2 separate regions of the Homo sapiens genome follow, and region 1 is linked to region 2. The links are contacts of gene promoters, found by promoter capture Hi-C in human tissues and cell types (Jung and others, 2019). All regions are on one chromosome and are shown on one strand. Each heading gives the region's core, a stretch centred on a gene start or on the middle of the fragment in contact. The rest is flanking DNA. Distances are from core to core; before and after follow the strand shown. Region 1 overlaps MICAL3 (microtubule associated monooxygenase, calponin and LIM domain containing 3). Region 2 holds the start of BID (BH3 interacting domain death agonist).

The links. The method cuts DNA at HindIII sites, captures the fragments that hold promoters and counts their contacts. A contact is called where the count stands out against the background at its distance.
Region 1: a contact is called between a fragment that was not itself captured here and the fragment with the promoter of BID in region 2, in 2 of the 25 tissues and cell types used here (heart right ventricle and lymphoblastoid cells).

Annotation. Positions count from the first base shown.
Region 1 is chr22:17,918,177-17,925,158 of GRCh38, forward strand. The region is part of intron 1 of MICAL3 (microtubule associated monooxygenase, calponin and LIM domain containing 3); the gene reads right to left. Among named protein-coding and RNA genes, the nearest start is that of MIR648, 59 kb to the right of the region's middle. The HindIII fragment of the contact is 5,993 bases long and covers 1-5,848 here.
Region 2 is chr22:17,772,401-17,778,719 of GRCh38, forward strand. It overlaps BID (BH3 interacting domain death agonist), which reads right to left and starts at 2,069. Exons shown (of 6, transcript NM_001196.4): 1 at 1,981-2,069. LINC00528 (long intergenic non-protein coding RNA 528) reads left to right here and starts at 4,890. Exons shown (of 1, transcript NR_103718.1): 1 at 4,890-6,319. RefSeq lists silencers at 1,578-1,907, 1,938-2,007, 2,028-2,077, 2,098-2,197 and an enhancer at 4,925-5,404. The HindIII fragment of the contact is 15,001 bases long and covers 1-6,319 here.

The DNA.
Region 1 (6,982 bases), core at 1,602-4,101, 150 kb after region 2:
CCTTTATACACTTCAAAGCTAAGGAGGACCAGAGTTCGAGGCTGCAGTGAGCTACGATCATGCCACTGCACTCTGGCCTGGCGGACAGAACGAGACTGTCTCTTAAAAAAAAAACATTGAGGACCCAAAGAGCTATCAATATTTACTATATGTAAAATTAAGACTGAGACAAAATTTCAACATTAATTCACTTTAAAATAACAATTAACATATCTTAAGAAAAAAAAATTACTTTCCAAGACAGAAATTCAGTGAGAAGAGTGACAGTTTTCCACATTTCTGCAAATCTCTTTAATGTGTGGCAGCCAGATTCTCCTGCCTGCTCTGTCTGCAGCAGCAGCACATATCACGTAGCCTCTAGAAAAGGCCACTGTACACACCTGGGCAAACGAGGGTGGGAAAAGCACATAATAGCACTCAGTATTATTACAAAAACAGTTCTGACCTCATGGAGCGCCCCCCAGACCTGCACCCATACACACGCCTTCCCTCTGTTGCCTCCTTTCCTGCCGCCAGCCTCTCCATCCCTGCTGGCCGCAATGGCCTCCCCATGTTCCCCACCTACCAGACACCCTCTCACCTCAGCCTCCGCATCTGCAGCTCCTTTTGTCTAAAAATGCTCTTCCCTCCGATCCGTTCACTCAAAAGATACTAGTGAGCATCTATTATGGGCCGAGGACTCTTCTACGCTCCAGAAATAACAGCAGTGAACAGAGAAAACAAGCTCTGACTTCCAGGGCACGAGCCTTCTAATGCAGCTGACACATATATTCAAATGCCAGCTTCTCAGTGTGGACTTCCCTGGTCACATCGTTTAAACCTGCTCATCCTCTTTCCCTGGTTTTCTCCAAAGCACTTACCACAACTTGACATACTCCAAATGTTTTTGGTTTTTGTGGGTTTTTTTTTTTTTTGAGACAGGCTCACTCTGTCACCCAGCCTGGAGTGCAGTGGCATAATCATAGCTCAGTGCAGCTTCCTCAGCTCAGGCGATTCTCCTGCCTCAGGCTCCTGAGTAGCTGGGACCACAGGTGCACACCACCAAGCATAGCTAATTGTTTTTTACTTGTAGAGATAGGGCCTATGTTGCCCAGGCTAGTCTTGAACTCCTGGGCTTCAAGCAATCCTCTTGCCTTGGCCTCCCACTGGGATTACAGGTGTGAGCCACCACACTCAGCCTCTAAATGTTATTTACTTACAATCCATCTTTCTGCTACAATGTAAGTTCTGGAAGGGTGAGGATTTTTGCCATTTTATTCACTGTTGCGTCCTTGCACCTGGAACAGTCCCTGGACCACAACAGGTGGTGCACAGTGAGGACCACTTGATGAACAAACGGCTGTGTATATGAACTTCTCCAGGCAGAACTGAGTTAGGATATGAGACAGAAGTCGTATCAAATGAAAATGAACTGTGTGCTTTCAGGCAGTGGCACCAGGCTGGGAGTCACAGAGAATGGGACCCCTACAAGGAGAGTCCAGATGGCTTCTGCCCAGCGGGGGAGGTGCTCCCCTGGAGACCTGCCCTTTTTCCATGACCACGACCAGCCCTGGACCTGGCTCACACAGGCTCTGCCCAGCAGGCCCCACACCCAGCTCAGGACCTGTTCTTGCCATCAGAAGAGAGCCTGTCAGGAGCCAGGACCTGGAGGCAGCTTTGTTTCAATAGCCAAATAGCTTCAGTGTAACTGTTCCCTATAAAAAGAAACTGGTTTCTAAAGAACTGCGGTATCAGTGTCAGCAAATGCTATGCAACAGCCCCAGCCCACTACCCCAGAGACGAGTGAAGGACCCATAACACTTCTGATTCCAAGTTACCTGTATGGCTAACATCTGCATGAGAAAGCCACGAAGCTGCCACAAGCCCAGGTGTCAGACAAGGCAACATTTCTTCATTTGAGGCAGGAGGACACAGGACTCAAAGGGTTACTGCGCATTTCATACTTGCTGGGCGGTGACGGAGGAGGCAAGTGAGAGGGAAAGCTGCACGCGTGAAACGCCAGCCTTGGGAGTGGAATGGGGGTGGGACAAAAGCATATTTTCTGCAAGTCCCCGCAGTGAGGACTGATGTGGCTGTACCTGCCCCGTCATCTCCACCCATAGGTGGGGCCCCAATACTGCCTTCTACAATACCCCACTGGTTCCTCCAGCCTGACGCTGTGTCTTGGGGCCCCCAGCCCGTCCCCACCCTCCTAATGACCCTCTTCCGGTCATCTTTTCACTCCCTCTCCAATCTGGCCTCTGTCTCCAACACTCCACTGAGGGTGACGGTGGCTTTCAAGTGAGACAGGCTCAGACGCGTTCCGGTCTTATCTGGCTAGCTCCCTGGCTGCAGCGCTTCCTGGAACCCGCCCTCCCCTGGCTGTGCTCTGTCTCCTGCTTCTGCCCACTCTCCACACCGGCCTCCAGTCTCTCAGCTGCAATTCTTTCATCTGCCGCTCTCAAAAAATTGGATGGCCCTTGATTTTTATCATTCTGACCTTCCTCCAGAGATCCAAAGCTACTAAACATTTCCATTTAGCCATCCACAGGTGCCTCCCACCAAGGAAGTCTACCCCACACGGAGTCAAACCCACCACCCACCAAATGGAAATCTGGGGTCATCTCAGACCCTTCTCTGTTCTCCACTCCTCAACCCAATCTGCTGATTCTAACTTTAGAATGTTCATCTGCCTACCACAATCCTGGTGGAAGCCCCGAGATTCCCAGTGTGAAAGGAAAATAAATCTTGGGGCCCCAAACTCACTAAGCCAAAGGGAAAAGCCAAGCTGGGAAAGGGATCATGCAAACCCACCTTCCATTCTGGTTCCTAAATAAGATGACTACAAAGATGACTCCCTCGCATTTTGCCCACAAGGAAATTCCTTGTGGGCCCCAAGATCTTTACCCTAAAGCATTTCTGTTAAAATTCACCATGGCAATGTAAGTTGACAGCTTATCTTCACAGGTACGGGGACATAAGACAGAACTCAAAGTCATCTCTCTGCCCACCTGTGACAAAGGCATATCTGATTGTTTCCTCTGCTCTATTGTCTATGTTATCTCATGTAAAAAGGCAGATTCAGAGTCAAAGGCATGAATGACTATTTTTCCCTTCCCTCAACATGAAAACTGTGTATTTCACAATATCCCACTCTTTCTCCCTTAAATACTGAAGCTCTCAAAATCATCTTCGGAGAAAGGCATAGAACTGTCTCCCGGGTATGCAACCTTAACTTTGGCAAATGTATCTCTTAAAATGACTAAGACTTGAGACTGGCCTTGGTCATTTCCCTTGACTGACACTAGCTTGGACTAGCACAGCTGCCTCTTAATCTTTTCTTTTGTGTGTGTGATGGAGTCTTGCTCTGTTGCCCAGGCTGGAGTGCAGTGGTGCGATCTCAGCTCACTGCAACCTCCATCTTCAGGGTTCAAGTGATTCTCCTGCCTCAGCCTCCCTAGTAGCTGGGATTACAGGCATGTGCGACCACACCTGGATAATTTTCATATTTTTAGTAGAGACGGGATTTCACCATGTTGGCCAGGCTAGTCTCGAACTCTTGGCCTCAAGTGATCCACCCACCTCGGCTTCCCAAAGTGCTGGGATTACAGGTATGAGCCACCGCGCCCGGCTAGCTGTCCCTTAATCTAAACTCGCTCCAATACATCCTCCACGAGTGCCAGAGGGGTCTTTTGTAAGGGCCAATGTGACCCGTTTCAGCCTCTGCTGACACTAGGAAACAATCCAAACCCTCAGCAAGGCCCAAAAAGCTGACTTCTCTCACTACTATTAATAGATGCAACCCATCCTCTCAGGTTCCCAGCATGCACCACACTTTTACGTGTTCCTCACCTCTGCCGCCTCCTCACCTTTGCCTACAACGCCCCTCCTGCACTTGAGACTGCAGCTCAGCATTCCGGACCTCACTAAAGCGACCCCGCCCACCCCAGCCCCAAGCAGCCAATCACCTTTTCCCCTGTGTTCCCTCCCACCTGGGTGCGTGCCTCCCCTTCAACACTCCTCACTTGCTCTGGAATTAAGTCCAGGTCTGCCTACCCGTTTGTGTTTGGGTCTGGCTAGGTAGAGGAATTCACGTTCATGTTTGCACGTAGTACAGATGCGGGCAGATGCCAAGAAAGAAGGAAAAAGATAAACAGAAGTCTCGCCTGGGCCATAACATCTAATGTCACAGAACTACACAAAAGGAGAAAGGGCATTTGCATGATGATTAACTTGTTACTAACTTGTTGGACAATTTAGGGGGTGTAAGAAGGACCAGGAAGCAGCCACAGTTGAGTTCCCTAAGGCATATTAGGAGTCTGAATGGCTCCTAATTATGAAAACAACAGGACTGTTGTTTTCTGTTCACATTCCAGGATGATCCTCACCTTTTTCAGACACTAAGTCACTGGTATTATGATGTTGAAGCTCCCAAGAGTTAGAATGGCTGAAGGGAAGACTCATGCCCACAGGCTTCTTAGAGATGCAAATGGCTCGGGACGAAAGAAAACCAGGTTCAAGTGTATGCACCAGGGCACAGGCTTGGTGAGCACAGCCTTGTTCCAGGAGGGTCCTTATTCTCCAATAAGGTAGCTGTGCATGCTCAAACCCAAGCAGTGTGTCTTGGTTCCAAGCCACAGAAAGGAATGGGGAATGAGGGCTAGCTAGCTCCAAGGCCATGGTTTTCTTCAACTATTTTCATGGAGAAAATCTCAGTTGTTCTCTCCAAAGCAGAAATAAATCTAGACAACTGACCCTAAACCAGCTCAGTGGAATGTATTTTCCCTTGAAATTAGCTTAAAAGAGTATGGGACTTAGGCATGATTCATCAGTGGATCAAATGCTTCTCCAAGCCAAACCTCTCCCTCTGCTGATTCCCGCTGACCCCTGAGATCACTCCCCCAGCTACACCCCTCACCACACCACTTCCATGGGAAGGAGGATCCATTTGGTTGGAAATGAAACATTCAGAGAAAGTGAGTAACAAGCTTGCTTTCTTCTGCTCAAGGAATACTGCAAATTCCCCAAGCTACACTCAGGCAGGGTCTTGAAAGTCCACAGCCCACAACTTCTCCCCACTTATGCACCCCTTGCCCTAGGGGTGACCCTACCCTGTCCGGAGCATATTGAACTATAGCCAAAACTGTGGTTTCTTTTCTCCCAAAGACCAGTTGCCAAAAACCAACTGCCATGACCTCTCTGGGCTCCAAAATTCCAACTGCTCTGGGCTCCAAGCCAGCAACCTACCACATTTTTTTTCTACAGAAGACTTATTAATCTTTACTCAATTCAGCACCAATAAGATTAGCCAGTGTAGAGCCAGAGGGGCTACCAGCTCCATTCCACATCTACCCTGGACTAAGATGCCAGCACCTGATGGCCAAAAGGCCCAGGCCACCTTCTGGTACCTGCTGGGGCCCAGTGGCAGTCTCAGGTCCTGAGCTGGGCTTTGCCCACCCCTTGGTTTTCTAAAGCACTTGTCTAGTTTGCTACAGGCACAGGACTACTGTTCATTGGCCTGCTGGCTCTGGGATACACATTCTTTGGCTTGCTCCAAGGACTGAAACCTAAAATCTGGGCAAACCCCAGTGTTCCCTAAGGGATATTAGAAAGTGTTACTGCTGTGACCCTCTTGCCAACTGTGGCTTACACAAGTCTAACTCCAGGGAAGCCATCTGTGTTAGTCCATTCTCATGCTGCTAATAAAGACATATCTGAGACTGGGTAATTTATAAAGGAAAGAGGTTTAATTGACTCACAGTTCAGCACGGCTGGGGAGGACTCAAGGAACTTATGATCATAGTGGAAGGGGAAGCAAACACATCCTTCTTCACATGGCAGCAACAAGGAGAAGTGCAGCACGAAGAGGGAGAGAAGCCCCTTATAAAAGCATCAGATCTCAAGAGAACTCACTATCACAAGAAAAGCATGGAGGTAACCGCCTCCATGATTCAATTACCTCCCACCAGGTCCCTCCCACGACACGTGGGGAATATGGGAGCTACAATTCAGTATGAGATTTGGGTGGGTACACAGCCAAACCATATCACCATCCTTATGGGAAGGCCACCAAAGGACACCGTCAGTCCTCTCACAAATCCTGGAGAGCTCTGTGTCTGCAGTCAAGCTCCACAGACTCCAACTCACCAGGGCACAGCCAGCGGATCAGGCACATCTCACCCCTCGGACCAGTTCAGGTACAGATTAAATATACCGCCTTGAGAAATACCACTCACTGGGGCAAGGAAAAGCCAATGTACTCTGTTCAACTTAAATAAATATTTGATATAGATACAGGTTGGGCATCTCAAATCTGTAAATCCAAAACTGGAAATATTCCAAAATCTCAATGTTTTTGAGCATCAACAGGACACTCAAAGGAAACACTCAATGGAGCATTTCTGATGGCAGATTTTCCAATTAGGGATGCTCAACTGGTAGGTATAGTGCAAATATTCTAAAACCTGAAAAAAATATGAAATCCAAAACACATCTGATCCCAAGCATTTCAGAAGAGATATTCAACCTGTGCTAAACACCATGGACGTACTTTGTTAAAGGACCTTAATTAAGCAACCCTGTATTTCAGAAGACCTGCAACCAGAAGCCCCAGAGCATCTCAAGCCACAGTGTGAGAACAGCAGGTATTTCATAAACATTGCTGCAGGATGACATAGTAACATGCCCACAATAGCTCCAGTGCTCTGACCTTCCTTCCTCAGGGCAACTCAACCCACTGTTCACAGTAAGCTTCCATCCCTGCTGGCAACAGGTATTTCTTTATAACAACACAACAATGGCCTAACACACCCTGCAAACTGGGTGCCAACAGAACAATGAAATTGACCAAATAGCAACGGGGGGAAAGAGTCCTGGGATCCGAATAAGCCACAAACTGGATATTGGGCTCTGGATCCTGGAGAGCTACCCTCTGGCCAGAAACCAAAATGGGCTTGGCTCATTCCTGGTAAATATTCCAACCACACTAGGTGCCGAGCACCTG
Region 2 (6,319 bases), core at 819-3,318:
AGCTGGAGAATGGTGACCAGATGTCAACGACAGGAAGCATTTCCAGAGGCCACAGCTCTGCAGGGAGGTCTCTCATGGGCTGACAGCCAGAGCCAGCGCTCCGGGTCCCCTGAAAAAACGGGCACAGTCCTCGGTCACGTCGAGGACCTGCTCAGCCCCTCCACTTGGCACCGGAGAGAGGATGACTCACGGCCCTTCTGCCTGGAAGGCAGGCTCCAGTGTCAAATGTCCATCCGCCTCCATCACCCTCATCCATCCTTGTCAGTCCAGGGGCCTGGGCACTGCTGGGGCTCCTGGGCAGACAGTTCCCCCTTGCAAATGAGTGGGACCCTCAGCTCCTTCGATCAGCATCCTCACGTCAGCCGAGCCTGTGAGCACCCCTAAGCAAGGCCTCTGAGCTGGGCATGCGACACCCCTTCCCACCCAGGCACCCTCCCCCTAGAATCCCCCATACCACCCTGGGGCCATGCCCCGCTTCCCTCTCTGGCAAGCTCCTGCACAACCTTGAGACCACCTGACAGCCACCGTCTATCCTGCCCAACCTCCTCAGAAGCACTAACAGCACCTCGCCCCAGCCACGGCAGGTCTCTGCACCCCTCGTCTCAGTCACCACTCTCACATCTCATGAACAGAGACACGAGCTGCTTCCTCATGCTCCCTGTGCCCGTCCTGGGAGATCCCTGCCTTTAAACCCCAGCCACGAACTGCTGACCCCGCATTTCCTCTTCCCTCCCTGGGCAAGAGGGGCAGAAGGGGCAGGGACGCACACCCTGGGCCGCAGGCAGAGGCTTGGCCAGGGTCGTCCTCCCGGCAGTGCCTCCCTGGAGCTCTGTCTACCTCAACTCCTGATGCCAGAGGATCCCTCTGCGCTCCCCACACCCTTAAGACCCCAGCTCAGGGAATCTGGTCTCGGTCATCACTCCCAGGGGACTGCAGGGCCCCAGGACGGCACACATTCAGGCCCAGGAGAGCTCCCCCCATCTCAAAGCCTCCTGTGGGTGGAGATGGAATGTGGAAAAACCGCATCCTCTGCAGCTCCCCCACAGTGAGAGCGAGGACTGAGGGTGTGGATAAGGCTCCAGGAAGGGGGTGCAAGCCTGAGAAGGTGGAAGAGCTCTGGGTGGGTCCATCTGCTCCTCACCTGCCCCAACCCTGCCTGCAGGTGAAGGCCGGTCCAGCCGCAGAAGGCCCAGCCCCCAGCCCACTTACAGAATCCGCACTGTGCTCCTCCAGCCGGCCCGGCCCCTCGCTGCCCACCGAGCCATCATGACCCCAGCACCGCTGCACATTCGTATTTGTTGAATGAATGAATGAACCCTTGCCAGCCCAGCCACTTGGTGGCTGAGGGCTTCAGAGCTCTCCCAGGGTCCCCTGGGGTCATTCAGCCACTCAACAGTTTCCCAGCAGCAGCAGCGAGGATCCGCACATCATTGCCAGTGCTCTAAGGAGCGGGCGAGCCCCAGTAAGCGGCCGCTCTGACCGCGCTTTGTCAGCCCTGAGCTCCGCTCGGGAGGAGCCGGCAGGTGTCTGCGGTGCTGGAAAGACCACGGTGTGGGCGGGGATTCCGATCCGCCGGCAAGGGTGGCCTGCACCCGGCCAGGCCCGCGGGTTTTCTCCTCTCCGGGGCTGGCCTCGGCCCCTCCCCCTCCCCGCGCCCCGCACCCCTCCCCTGAATCCCCAGGCCACGTGGAGAGGACACAACAAAGCCTTCCCCGCCTCCGAGGCGGACCCGACCCTCAGCACCGACCTGCCGGCCGCGCCGAGGAGGGCGCCCGGGCGGAGGGGAGGCGGGAGAGACCCGGCCCTCAGGTCGCTGCTGAGGCCTGGGGCTCTGACCCCCCGCCTCCCCTCCTCTGGCTCCCACCGCGGTCGGGCCCAGGGCGGGCGGCGGGCCCTGAGCTCCACGCCGGGGCAGGCGGCAGGCAGGGGTCACGGGCTGGGGCTCGGCGCGTACCCCGGGAGGGGCGCGGGTGCACTCACCACCCTCCAGCCGCGGGGGCGCGGGCGCGTCCGGGCCGAGGCAGCGTCTCCCAGGCGCGCGGACACGGTCGACTACCCGCTTCCTCCTTATGGCGCCCCGCGCGCTTCCTCCTTCGGCCCCCCACGCCCGGGCCCGCCCCGGCCCGCCCCGGCCCGCCCCCGGCGGCTTGCGGGGACCCGGGGAGCCCGCGCCGGCGCGGGGCTGTGGAGCGGGGCGGGGAGCCGGCAGCGCAGTGAGAACCAGGCTTTCCACCCTTACCCCTTACGCGACTGTTTCAGACAGTGTCGTCCAACTTTAAGTTGGCCACTTACTCCAGCGCCGCTGGGATAATTCCTAATGATTCTCTGGGAAACATTCAGAATCCCCAGGCTGTTTCTGGAACAGTCTGGGGTGGTCATTCTAGGTCCTCACGGAACCAGGGGTTTGGAAAGTGGGTGAAGCCATGTGGGTTGCAGAGAATCTGGCCCAGCCCCTCACCAGTCCCTGTGCTTGTTGTTTATTCTTTAATTATTTGGATATCAACTCTGATTTAAAACATCAGTTTAACATATAGATAATGCTGGGACTACAGGCGCACACCACACCCAACTAATTTCTTTTTCAGTTTTTAGTGGAGGTGGTGGGGGGGGGGTCTCCACCTCTGGAGGTCTCAGGCTGGTCTCGAACTCCTGGGCTCCAGCGATGCTTCCCACCTCGGCCTCCCAAGGTGCTGGAATGACAGGCCAGTCCATGCATCCCCGGATGCAGCTCTCACCGGCAGTGCTGCTGCAGAGCCCTTTGTGGGCGTCTTCACTTCTCTTGAGTGTGATACCTAGGAGTGGAAATGCGAATCATAGGGCTGGACGAGCTTCATGGTATTAAAAACTGCCTGCTTTCCAAGGTGATGCACACCGTTCGGCACTTCCACCAGCCCTGTTGGAGCGTCCAGTTGCTCTGCGCCCTCGCGTGGGCTCACTCCCTGAGCCCACTGTGGCTCCTCCAGACGCCCTCACTTCTACCCGGGCTCCCTAGACTCTTGCCTCTTTTATAAAAGGTCAGAGGATGTCACTCACGCTTTAACATCCTCTGAATAAAAGCCAAGTTCCTTTCAGTGGCCCGCAGAGTCCCACGCGACCTGCCCTGCTCTAAGCAAATCCTACCCTGTCCCTGTTCCTCCTCGGCAGCCCCATGGCCTCTGGCTTTCACCAGGCCTCACTTCATTTTCCTCCACAGCCAGCATCGCAGCATGACATACCACGGAGTCGTTTGTGTGTGTGTTGCCTACCTCCCCTCTCGGAATGTAGCCTCCACGAGGACAGGGGCTTGTTTCCTGCATGCTCTTCACTCGGGCTGGGCACTCTGGGGGGCTAACAAATGGAAGATCCTGTGAGCAGGGAAACCGTCAGATGGCATTAGGGGCCGGTGCCCTGCAGAAGACGAAAGGGAAACTTCATGGACTGAGGCCAGGTCATCTGCAGGGTGGTGTTCAAATTCATGGTACAATGTCAGCAGGCGCCCAGATGGGAAAAGAGAGGGACGTGCACCTGGGCACAAGAAGCTGCAGGGGCCCCTCCCAGGGCAGGCGAGAGCTTGGACAGTGGGGCACAGTGGGCAAGAGGCCAGTGGGGTGGCCTGAAGGCAGGAGGCTCCAGCAGCCTGGATGAGCAGTTGGATTTTATCCTCAGCACTGTGGGGGCCACTGGCCCTGTCATGCAGGGCAGGACCTGTACCAATTGGCCCCCACAGTCTCTGCCTCTCCTGTTGGCTTTTTGCAGGTCTCTCAAGTGCTTCTTACAGTCAGGGTAGAGCCTCCCCGCCTCAATCCTCCCTGTCCTGATCTGCTGCCTCTATGATGCTTTGGGCTTCAAAATCTGTCTGCAGTATTTGTAAAATGAGAGAGGGTGATGTTTCCTGCAAAACAACCACTTCAAAAAGAAAGGGGGGCGGGGTGCCAGAAAACAATTCAGGGGGTGACGGACTGGGGGGCTATGGAAGGGTCCAGGGAAATTCCGGGGATGATGGGATTCTTCTATACAGGGATTGTGGTGGATGCCACACAATTGTACACTTTTGTGAGAACTCTGCACGAAGAATGGTGAGTTTTACTGTATGTAAAATTATACCTTAATTAACAAATGAAACAATATACACATACATGAGAGAATGATGACTTTATTTTTTTTTTTGAAACAGGATCTAGCTCTGTCACCCATGCTGGAGTGCAGTGGTGTGATCACAGCTCACTGCAGCCTTGACCTCCCAGGCTCGAGTGATCCTCCTGCCTCAGCCTCCCAAGTATCTGGGACTGCAGGCATGCACCGCCACGCCTGGCTAATTTTTTAAAAATTTTTTTTAGACGGAGTCTGGCTGTGTCACCCATGCTGGAGTGCAATGGTGTGATTTCCGCTCACTGCAACTTCTGCCTCCCGGGTTCAAGTGATTCTCCAGCCTCAGCCTCCCAAGTAGCTGGGATTACAGGCACCCACCACCATGATTGGCTGGCTAATTTTTGTATTTTTAGTAGAGACGGGGTTTCACCATATTGGCCAGGCTGTTCTCGAACTCCTGACCTCAGGTGATCTGCCCGCCTCAGACTCCCAGAGTGCTGGGATTACAGGCGTGTGCCACCACACCTGGCCTTTTTTTTTTTTTTTTTTTTTTTTTTTTGGGACAGGGTCTTGCTATGTTCCCCAGGCTGGTCTTGAACTCCTGGGCTCAAGTAATCCTCCCACCTCGGCCTCCCAAAGTGCTGGGGTTACAGGCATGAACCACTGCACCCGACCTGAATGATGTTTTTGGCAATGAAAATGAAACACAAAATCCAGCAAGGTTTGACGGGGAAGGCGAGCTGGCGACCACATAGTCACAGTCGGCCTTTGCTTCCGCTTTATGCTGCAGTTTCTCACTGTCACTTCCTGCCACCGGGCTCGTCTTCCTGTGAAAATTCAGCCCCTCTTCCTCAGTTACCCCTTTGCAACAGAACGAGGCCGGCATTTTCTAAAGCGTCCTTGAGGAGTCCAGTTCCTAAAAGATTATTTCAGAGTCCACTGTTGTGGGCTGACTTGAATGCTCTCAAAATTCGTAAGTTGAAGCCCTGACCCCCAGGACCTCAGAACGTGACTGTGCTTGGACACAGGGACTTTCCAGAGGTGATTAAGGTGAAGTGAGGTCACTGGATGGCCCTCCTCCTATCTGACTGGTGTCCTGATGGGGACGCGGACACCCACACAGGAACGGACCCGGGGAGAACAACACATCGTCTCTGCGCCAGGGAGAGAGGCGTCCGGGGAACCCAGCCGTGCCCACGCATTTATCTCCGCCTTCCGGCTCAGAATTGTGAGGAAACCCGCTTCTGTTGTGCAAGTCCCGGGTCTGTGGTGCTCGGCCATGGCGCCCCCAGAACTGCATCCCCACCTTCTGCTCTGAGCCACCCATCCCCTCTGGAAGGGCTGAGCTTCTCTCCCTTTCCACCTTCTGTTCTGAGCCACCCGTCCCCTCCAGAAGGGCTGAGCTTCTCTCTCTTTCACTGCCTATGCTCTGGGAAACTTTCAGAATCCCCAGGCTGTTTCTGGAATAGTCTGGGATGGTCATTTTCGGTCCTCACAGAACCGGGGGTTTGGAAAGTAGGTGAAGCCATATGGGTTGCAGAGAATCTGGCCCAGCCCCTCACTAGTCCCTGTGCTTGTTAGTTATTCTTTAATTACTTGGATATCAACTCTGATTTAAAACATCAATTTAACATACAGATAATGCTGGGACTGCAGCTTCGCCAGGTGGCCTTCCTCTCCCGGTCTCGGGAGGCGTCACCCCCATCTTGTCCCCCCAAGATCAAGCGAAAAGGGCAAAGTTATCTTTTTTTTTTGCAAAATTCAAACCTTTCCCTCCTTCCCAGGTCTGGGTCACTTGCGACCCTCCTCTCAGGCTGCTTCTGACAGGCCCAAGTCACAGCCAACTTCAGGGGAGCTGTGTTGGATCCCTCCAAACTCCGGGAATGATGTGACCTCCCCGGCGCTCACCCTGGGCCTCTAGGTTAGACTCAGCCCAGACCCTGGCTCACAGGGAAGCAGAGCCCATGGCTGGCCTCCACCCGCTCAGACGCCCGCACACAGGCCAGGGGAGGGCTTGGGGGCAGCTCTGGGAGGGTCCCTGTTTGCGCTGTGGGTGTCCAAGGCTGGGTGTGCAGAGCTGAGGTTGCCACACACCTGAGGGACTCTCGCATAAGGATGGCGCAGGGCTGGAAGCTGGACTGAGACAGTGAATGAGACAGCGCTGCCGGCTCTCTCCGCGCCGTGGACTGGCTCCTAGGCAGTCTCACGAGCAAGTGTGCTGTTGCTCGTGCACGTGTGTTTTAACTGAGAT